Regions from separate parts of the Homo sapiens genome. Here region 1 is linked to region 2. Evidence: promoter capture Hi-C in 16 types of primary human blood cells and fetal thymus (Javierre and others, 2016). All regions are on one chromosome and are shown on one strand. The core of a region is centred on a gene start or on the middle of the fragment in contact, and the rest is flanking DNA. Distances in the headings are between cores, read along the strand shown. Region 1 has its middle 110 kb from the start of DCTN6-DT. Region 2 holds the start of RBPMS (RNA binding protein, mRNA processing factor).

Region 1 (3,886 bases), core at 897-3,396, 120 kb after region 2:
TCTCGCTGCTCTGTTCCCTTCTTTACATCCTGTAAGTGGACCTGCCTTAGACATCCAGTTTTTCTATTTATGCCCACTGCTTTTGAGATGACATAAGTTGGGGGGAAAGCTGGGTTTTACAGTCAACTCAGCTATTTTCCTGTACATCACCTTCTCGGATAAAAAGCACTTCCCTTCTGGGTGCAGTGGCTCACGTCTTTAATCCCAGCACTTTGGGAGGCTGAGGTGGGTGGATCACTTGAGGCCAGGAGTTTGAGACCAGCCTGGCCAACATGGTGAAAACCTGTCTCTACTAAAAATACAAACATTAGCCGGGCACGGTGGTGCATGCCTGTAATCCCAGCTACTCGGGAGGCTGAGGCAGAAGAATCGCTTGAACCTAGGAGGCGGAGGCTGCAGTGAGCTGAGATTGTGCCACTGCACTCCAGCCTGGGTGACAGAGCAAGACTCCATCTCAAAAAAAAAAAAAAAAAAAAAAAAAAAAGCACATCCCTAATTATGGCTCCTAACCACAGGAGTTATTGGGGCTAGGAAGTTCCAAGGGACAACTATGAAACAAGATGTGAAGCAGGATTTTTCCCATCAGACTGGAATTGTGGCTGAGGCTGAAAGCTGAGGACAAGAGTTGCTAATACCATGAGAAGTTGCTAATAACTGGGAACTAGAAGCATTCCTCGCAGCTTACCAAGAAGTGGAAGAACGGGCTCTGCTACCATCACCCTCCTCACCGTGGATTCTATTAGAGAATACCTGGGTGGGCCTCCGGGCTCAGAATGAGGGGAGAATCTCTCCCCATCCACCAAGGAAAGAAATGCTTCCCTTCCGTGAACCCCAGTGAAGATAAGGTGCTTCTCAGAGAATAGTTTACAGGAAATGAGGGTGCCCACAAGAGGCTGTTGTTTGGGCATCTCATTTCCCGGTTGGACATTGACTTAAGCCACAGATTTACTTGCTGACAGCCCCTGTGCTGGTGTGAGCAGGGACAAGGGAGTTGGGAAGAGGTGGCTGGACTCCAGGAAGGGGTTAGGCAAGGAGCAGCCACAGTCCCAGCACTGGAAATGGAAGGTAGCACCGCCGCCACCCACACAGAGTCAGTTTTGTGAGGGGTGGCTTTGCGGTGCCAACTCAGCTAGGCTGAACTAGACTCCTGTCATTCCCTTTCTTATATGTTTCTGGTTAGGGTTGGCCACAGGAGGAATTTGCATGAGATTTGGATGATGGAAACTCAGCAGCACCTGTGTTTTTGTCTCAGAAGGCCCAGGTGGGTCAGGTTTTAGCGGATGCAATGGGTCCATTGTTGGTGTGGGAAGCAATCTGGCCTAAAGCCCCAGCTCCCATGGGATCACTTCCTTCAGCTTTTCTGAATCCCGAGCCAGGTGCAAGTATGGCTCTGGGCAAGACAGCAGCTTCTCCTGCAGATAGTCTGCGGGCCCGGAGTTGGAGGCTCTGAGATGGGAAGGGGCTGACATGGACGCCAGTGAGAGACAGACAGAAGTCCAGCTGCCTGCCTCTCTCCCAATTTGTGTTCCCCTTTCTTCCCAGCCCCTGCCCTGTGACTTCCAGCTTGGCGCCAGGCACAGGAGAAACAGCTGGACTGAGACGGCTTTATGGCTCTCTGGAGTTGAATCCCTACAAGAAATATCTTGTTCTATCTACATCACACTTAGCAGTTCTGCTTCTTGGACTCAGTGCTGATTGATACTTCTAGGTTACGTGGAGAAACTTGGTACAGTAATAAGAACACAGTCAGATACATGTTCTAATTTCATCTGTTTGGCTGGGCGTGGTGGCTCATGCCTGTAATCCCAGCACTTTGGGAGGCCGAAGCAGGAGGATCACTTGTGTCCAGGAGTTTGAGACCACCCCGGGCAACATAGTGAGCCATCTCCACAAATTTTTTTTTTTTTTTTTGAGGCAGTCTTGCTCTGTCACACAGGCTGGAGTGAAATGGTGCAATCTTGGCTTACTGCAACCTCCACCTCTTGGGTTCAAGTGATTCTCCTGCCTCAGCCTCCCAAGCAGCTGGGATTACAGGCGTGTGCCACCATGCCCAGCTAACTTTTTTTTTGTATTTTTAGTAGAGATGGGGTTTTGCCTCCAGGCTGATCTCGAATTCCTGACCTCAGGTGATCCACCCGCCTTGGCCTCCCAAAATGCTGGGATTGCAGGTGTGAGCCACCACGCCCAGCTCACAAAACATTTTTTAAAATTAGCTGGGTGTGGTGGCATGTGCCTGTAGTCCCAGCAACTTGGGAGGCTAAAGCAGAAGGATAGCTTGAGCCTGGAAGGTTGAGGCTGCTGTGAGCCAAAATCATATCACTGCACTCAGCCTGCACAACAGAGTGAGATGCTATCTCAGAAGAAAAGAGAGAGAGAGAGAGAAAGAAACAATTTCATCCGTTCATCTTTTCAGCTAATTTGCTGTGTGACCTTGGGCATGTCACTTTGCCCACCAAGTCCCAGTTTCATCACTGGTTTAAATAAAGGAGGGTTGGATTAGGTGGTCTGTAAAGATGTTCCCGGATTTAAACATACAAGCAGACACATGATACTAAAGTTTATATTTAAGAGTTTCTGAACTCTTGAAAAGCAGTTGTGAAAATTATGCCCTAACAAAACTATTGCCTACTGGCTAATTCCAAACTTTATAACAATTTTCCCGCTGCTCAGTTATGGTCAACACTTTTTCAGGTGTGGGCAAAACTCACAATTCCTCATTCTCTGGGAACTGCCACCAGGTGCACTGGGGTAGGGCCCTGGCAGCCATGCTGATATTACAGGATACCCTCTGCTCTTGCCTATTGCTGACTGGACCAGAGGCGAACACCTGCTCCAAGGTGGCCTCAGGTCCTCTCCCCTGGGAAATTGAGAATTGGGACCAGGAAGCTGCTCAGTTTGTCCAGGCTGGTGCCTCAACCTCTGGAAACACTGGAGTGGCCAGAGAAGCAGAGAAAGTGTGTCTGAATTGAGAAAGAGAGAAGAATGAAGCACATGCTTCAGAGAAAAGCAAAGACAAGAGCTAGAGAGAAAAAAAAATCCTACCCATTTCTATCCGCATTACTGCCCCTTGTTTCCTTGAGAGGATCTGATTTTATTCCTTCCTTTCTGTTTATGTGAGCCCAGGTTCACCTGTATTACTTGTCTCTAAAGAACTTTGATAAGCCAATAGGAAGATCTATTTTTCTTGATAAAAACTGGCTAAAATTTGATTTGGGGGGAAACACGGTCTCACTCTGCTCCCCAGGCTGGAACCCAGTGGCACAATCACAGCTCACTGCAGCCTCGACCTCGCAGGATTCAGGCAATTCTTCCACCTCAGCCTTCTGAGTAGCAGAGACCACAGACATGTGCCACCACATCTGGCTAATTTTTTAATTTTTTGTAGAAACGGGGTATCCAGGCTGGCCTCGAACTCCTGGGCTCAAGCGATCCACCCACTTTGGCCTCCCAAAGTACTAGGATTACAGGTGTGAGCCACCTCGCCCTGCCTGATTTTATTTATTTATTTATTTATTTGAGACAGGGTCTCACTCTGTCACCCAGGATGGAGTGCAGTGGCACGATCTCAGCTCACTGCAACCTCCGCCTCCTAGGTTCAAACGATTCTCGTGCCTCAGCCTCCCAAGTAGCTGGGATTACAGGTGCACGCCACCATGCCCAGCTCATTTTTTTTTTTTTTTTTTTTTTTGGTATTTTTAGTAGCAGCAGGGTTTCACCATGTTGGCCCAGCTAGTCTTGAACTCCTGACCTCAAACGATCTGCCCGTCTCAGCCTCCCAAAGTGCTGGGATTACAGGCTTGAGCCACCACACCCAGCCTCTGATTTTTTTACTATTGTGCTTCTTCATCCAAAACAGAAATTCTGGTTTTGAAAAAATAGCCTAGCT
Region 2 (3,675 bases), core at 877-3,376:
AGTGGTAGGGAAAATAAATAGCAAAGCAGCCAGTAAAGTTCAAGAAAAAAAATCAGAACACACCATTCAACTCTCCATCGCTTTGAAAAAAGAAATGCCAGTAGCATTCCTACAATTGTAATTAGAAAACATGCAAGTAAACAACTCTTCAAATAGTCTTTTATAATAAAATAGAAAATGTCCTCGGGTGAAAAAGCAATTTTTGGCTGACTGCAATTCATTTAGGTTTTCACTACCATACAACTGGGTGACGAGTAAAATCTCCTATTTATTTTGCATTGTTTGGCATAGTCTCGCTCCTCTACCTTCTCCATCTAAATAGTTACCATTTTCCAAGTGGACAATGTGCAGAGAAGTTGTATGTATTAATGAATTCCTCTGCAATTTTGGTTTCACTATCAGAATTGAAGTTTGCACACAACATAGTGTCTCAACAATGATCTCAACATTCTAACGCTTTAGAATCCGTTTACCTTCTGTGTTCACCTATATCAGGATCCAATACCTGTGTGAATCTTTTCGGGTCATATTTAGACGTGCACTTTCCTGCATCTACACACACTCTCAAGTTCCTCTAGAATGTTTAAGAACTCAACTGTGTGGGATGTTAAGAAGTACGCCAGAAATAATTTCTTGGACTCCAGATAACGTACCTGCAAAAAGAGTCATTTGGTAGGATACCACAAATATCCTACTGAATTCTGAAACGTTTGTTCCTGAGTCCGACTCCCCTTCTGACCACATCTACTCAATTTTGTTTCCACCGAAGGAACGCTCCGCAGTCACAAAACTTTCATCATGATTACGGACGCACCACCTAAAATGCATGCTCAGAAGTCAAAGTCCTATGAAAATACCCTCGATGAGCATTTGGTGAATTGCTGCGTTTTTAACCCTCTTACTCTGCTCCCCTCAGCTGCACGGCCCCTAAAATCACAAGCGTTCACCGCCCAGGCTCGGGGTCTTTGACTCAGCAGAGAAGAATGTGGCTGATGAGTTATCTATTAATCCAAAAAACCTCGGCTAGAAAGATATTTCACCAAGAACTTTTAACACGGAAAGGGAGGGGGCAGGGAATAGAGGTATCTTTTAACGAGAACTTTCCCCCGAGTTTCTTCCTTAAACTGCTCCCCCCCCGACCCTGAATCCATACACAATTTCCAGCCCCGGCCCTAAGTCCTGACCCTCCGAGTCCCGATTATCTGAGGTCACCCAGGAGTCAGCTCTCGGTTCCACTTATAAATCCCGGGCAAACAAAGCTGAGCATTATACTTACAAAAGTCTCCGAAAAGTCCTTGGAGTTACGCAATTTGGGGCCCGCAGACGCGCGTGGACACAAAAACACACGCTCCCGAGATCCACCCTCCCCGGGCCACACTGTGGGGCTGCGTCCGGGGCACGGGCCATGCCTGAACCTTCTTCCACCGCCGCGCCCCGGGCCCGCGCCCCGCCGGCCGCCCGCACTGGGTCCCGCGTCGCCCCCGCCACCACACCGAGCCGCCCAGTACCTCCTCCTCCTGAAGGTTGGCCTCGCTCGGGGTGTTCTCCTTCTCGGCTTTGCCGCCGTTGTTCATCTTCCCGGTCCTTCCTCGCCGGGCCGGGCAGGGCTGGGGCGCGGGGCTGGGCGAGGGCGCGCTAGCCCACTGGAGCCTTCCCCGGGCGCCGGGGCTCCCTCGGGCGGGCGCCGCGGGCTGTGGGGCTGGAGCTGGAGCCGGGGCAGTGGCTGTCGGGCTCGGGTTGGGCTGGGGCTCCCGCGGCGAGTCTGCGACGGCGGCGGCGGGCGACTCAGGAAGTGCAAGGGAGAGACGGGGCAGGGCGCGGGCCGGGAGCGGGGCACCGAGACAATCGGGCCCCGGGAGGGCGACCTGGAGAGGGAGGGCGGGAGCCAGGGGAGGAAGGAAGAAGGAAGGAAGGAAGGAAGCAAAGGATGGGGCGAGGACGCGCGTCCCAGGAGTAAGCGCGGAGAGTTGGGGCTGGGGGCTGCAGCCGCTGGAAGGAGGGGACGGGGGTGCCTAGAGAGGAGGAGGAGGAGGAAGAGGAGGAGGAGGAGCGGGGCGGAGGAGCGCGGGCCGCGGCTGGGACGCTGGGACCCGAGAGCCGCTGAGTACGCGCTCCAGGCAGGCTCTGGGAAGTCCGGGATGGAAGCAGCTCCCTTTCTCTCGCCTTCCTCCCTCCCCTCTCCCCTCCCTCCTCTCCGCGCCTCTCCTCCTCCCTCCGCCCTCCCTGGACGTGGGCTGCCGGCTGCAGCCCGGAGGGACGGGGCGCGGGACGGAGCCCCCCGCGGGAGGAGGGGCCGGCGGCCGGATGGCGCGCGCCGGGGAGGGGCAGCGGGCCGCGGGCGGAAGCGGCGACCCCAGCCCCCGACTCAGCGGCTGGTCGGAGGGCGAGGGCCCGGGAGGCCGAGGGCAGGGAGGTCGGGTCCCGCCGTTCCCTTGGCCCCCGGGGGCCCCGGCGTCTGCGCGCCCCGGGACTTCGGGGACCCTGCCCCGCCGGGGCCTGGACCGGGACCTGGGATGTGTGCGACTTTTAGTTTGCCGGCTTTTACCGAGGGATTTGCACCCCTGGCCCTAAGCCCACCCTTCCCGAGCCAGACCCGGTTCTTCCTCTGCTGCTTGAATGACAGCATGAGAACTCGAGGGACACCGGGGACAGCCCACTCCGGGCCGGCTTTTTCAGGACAGGGCTTCAAACCCATCTCCAGCGCGGGTCCTGCGACGCGCCCGGAGCCTTCCCCGCTTCGCTTCCTGAGCGTCCCGCGGCCCCCCGACTCCTCTCCCAACTCTCACCAGACTGTTCTGGGATTGTTTACCTGGCCTCTCCCTCACCCTTCAGAAAGCTCCTTCCTGGAAGAAAAAAAAAAATCCTGCCCTATTTATCTTTTTAATCCCACGGCTATTTAAACGGGCTAAGGGGTATATAGCAGGCACTCAATAAATATTTGTTGGCAAAGTGAATATTCCTTATTGCAGGCAGAGCTGGGGGTCCGTACGGAGGAACTTCAGAGGCTGGAAGCACGCTTGAAAAAGAAAGGGGGCCTGGGCTTTGCACCAGCTTCAGGATTGCGTACTTGTTTCCTCATCCGTGAAATGGGAGCAGCTGAATGTGTCTCCTCGAGTTTTCGAGGTGATTATAGGTTGATAGAGCTATATACAGCACCCAGCATTTATTCTTGCTTCGTTTAGGTTTACAATACATGGAAGCTAACATTATTATTAAGAAAACTTCTATTTTTCCAGGGCCTTAGAAAGCGTTTCCAATACTCGATCATTTAAGCTTATGGTTTTTTGGTTTTTTTTTTTTTTAGAAAAATGAGGGTCTCACTTTGTTGCTCAGGCTGAGCTCGAGCTCCTGGCCTCAAGTGATCCTCCTGCTTTTGGCCTCCCAAACTGATGGGATTACAACGTGGAGCCACCGTGTTAAACTCTTAGATTTGACTGCTACAAAGGTATAAATGTGGAACTCCATATATCAGTGGGTTCTGCCCCACTTCTTCCTCCCAGGAATTCTCCATCCCAGCCTGCTGCTCCTGTCTTGCACCGGTAACAGTTTCCAACTACAGTATTTGCTTAACTGTTTCTCCCCACCCCCACCAGACATTCTTTATACTTGGTTTAAGTGCTGCTGGGGATAGGGCGGGGGTGGCTGTGGGAGTTGCAGATAAGGACCCTCCCTTTA

Evidence for each region. Contacts are between HindIII fragments. The CHiCAGO score rates a contact against its expected background, and 5 or more counts as called.
Region 1: a fragment that was not itself captured here is called in contact with the fragment with the promoter of RBPMS in region 2 in 2 of 17 cell types (M1 macrophages and M2 macrophages); the score reaches 5.3 in M1 macrophages.

What each region holds. Positions count from the first base shown.
Region 1 is chr8:30,265,875-30,269,760 of GRCh38, reverse strand. No RefSeq gene overlaps it. Among named protein-coding and RNA genes, the nearest start is that of DCTN6-DT, 110 kb to the right of the region's middle. The HindIII fragment of the contact is 6,409 bases long and covers 1-3,886 here.
Region 2 is chr8:30,382,992-30,386,666 of GRCh38, reverse strand. It overlaps RBPMS (RNA binding protein, mRNA processing factor), which reads right to left and starts at 2,126. Exons shown (of 9, transcript NM_001008710.3): 1 at 1,509-2,126. The coding sequence starts at 1,574. It overlaps RBPMS-AS1 (RBPMS antisense RNA 1), which reads left to right and starts at 1,266. Exons shown (of 3, transcript NR_046205.1): 1 at 1,266-1,523; 2 at 2,970-3,123. RefSeq lists enhancers at 997-1,668, 1,669-2,339. The HindIII fragment of the contact is 8,815 bases long and covers 1-3,275 here.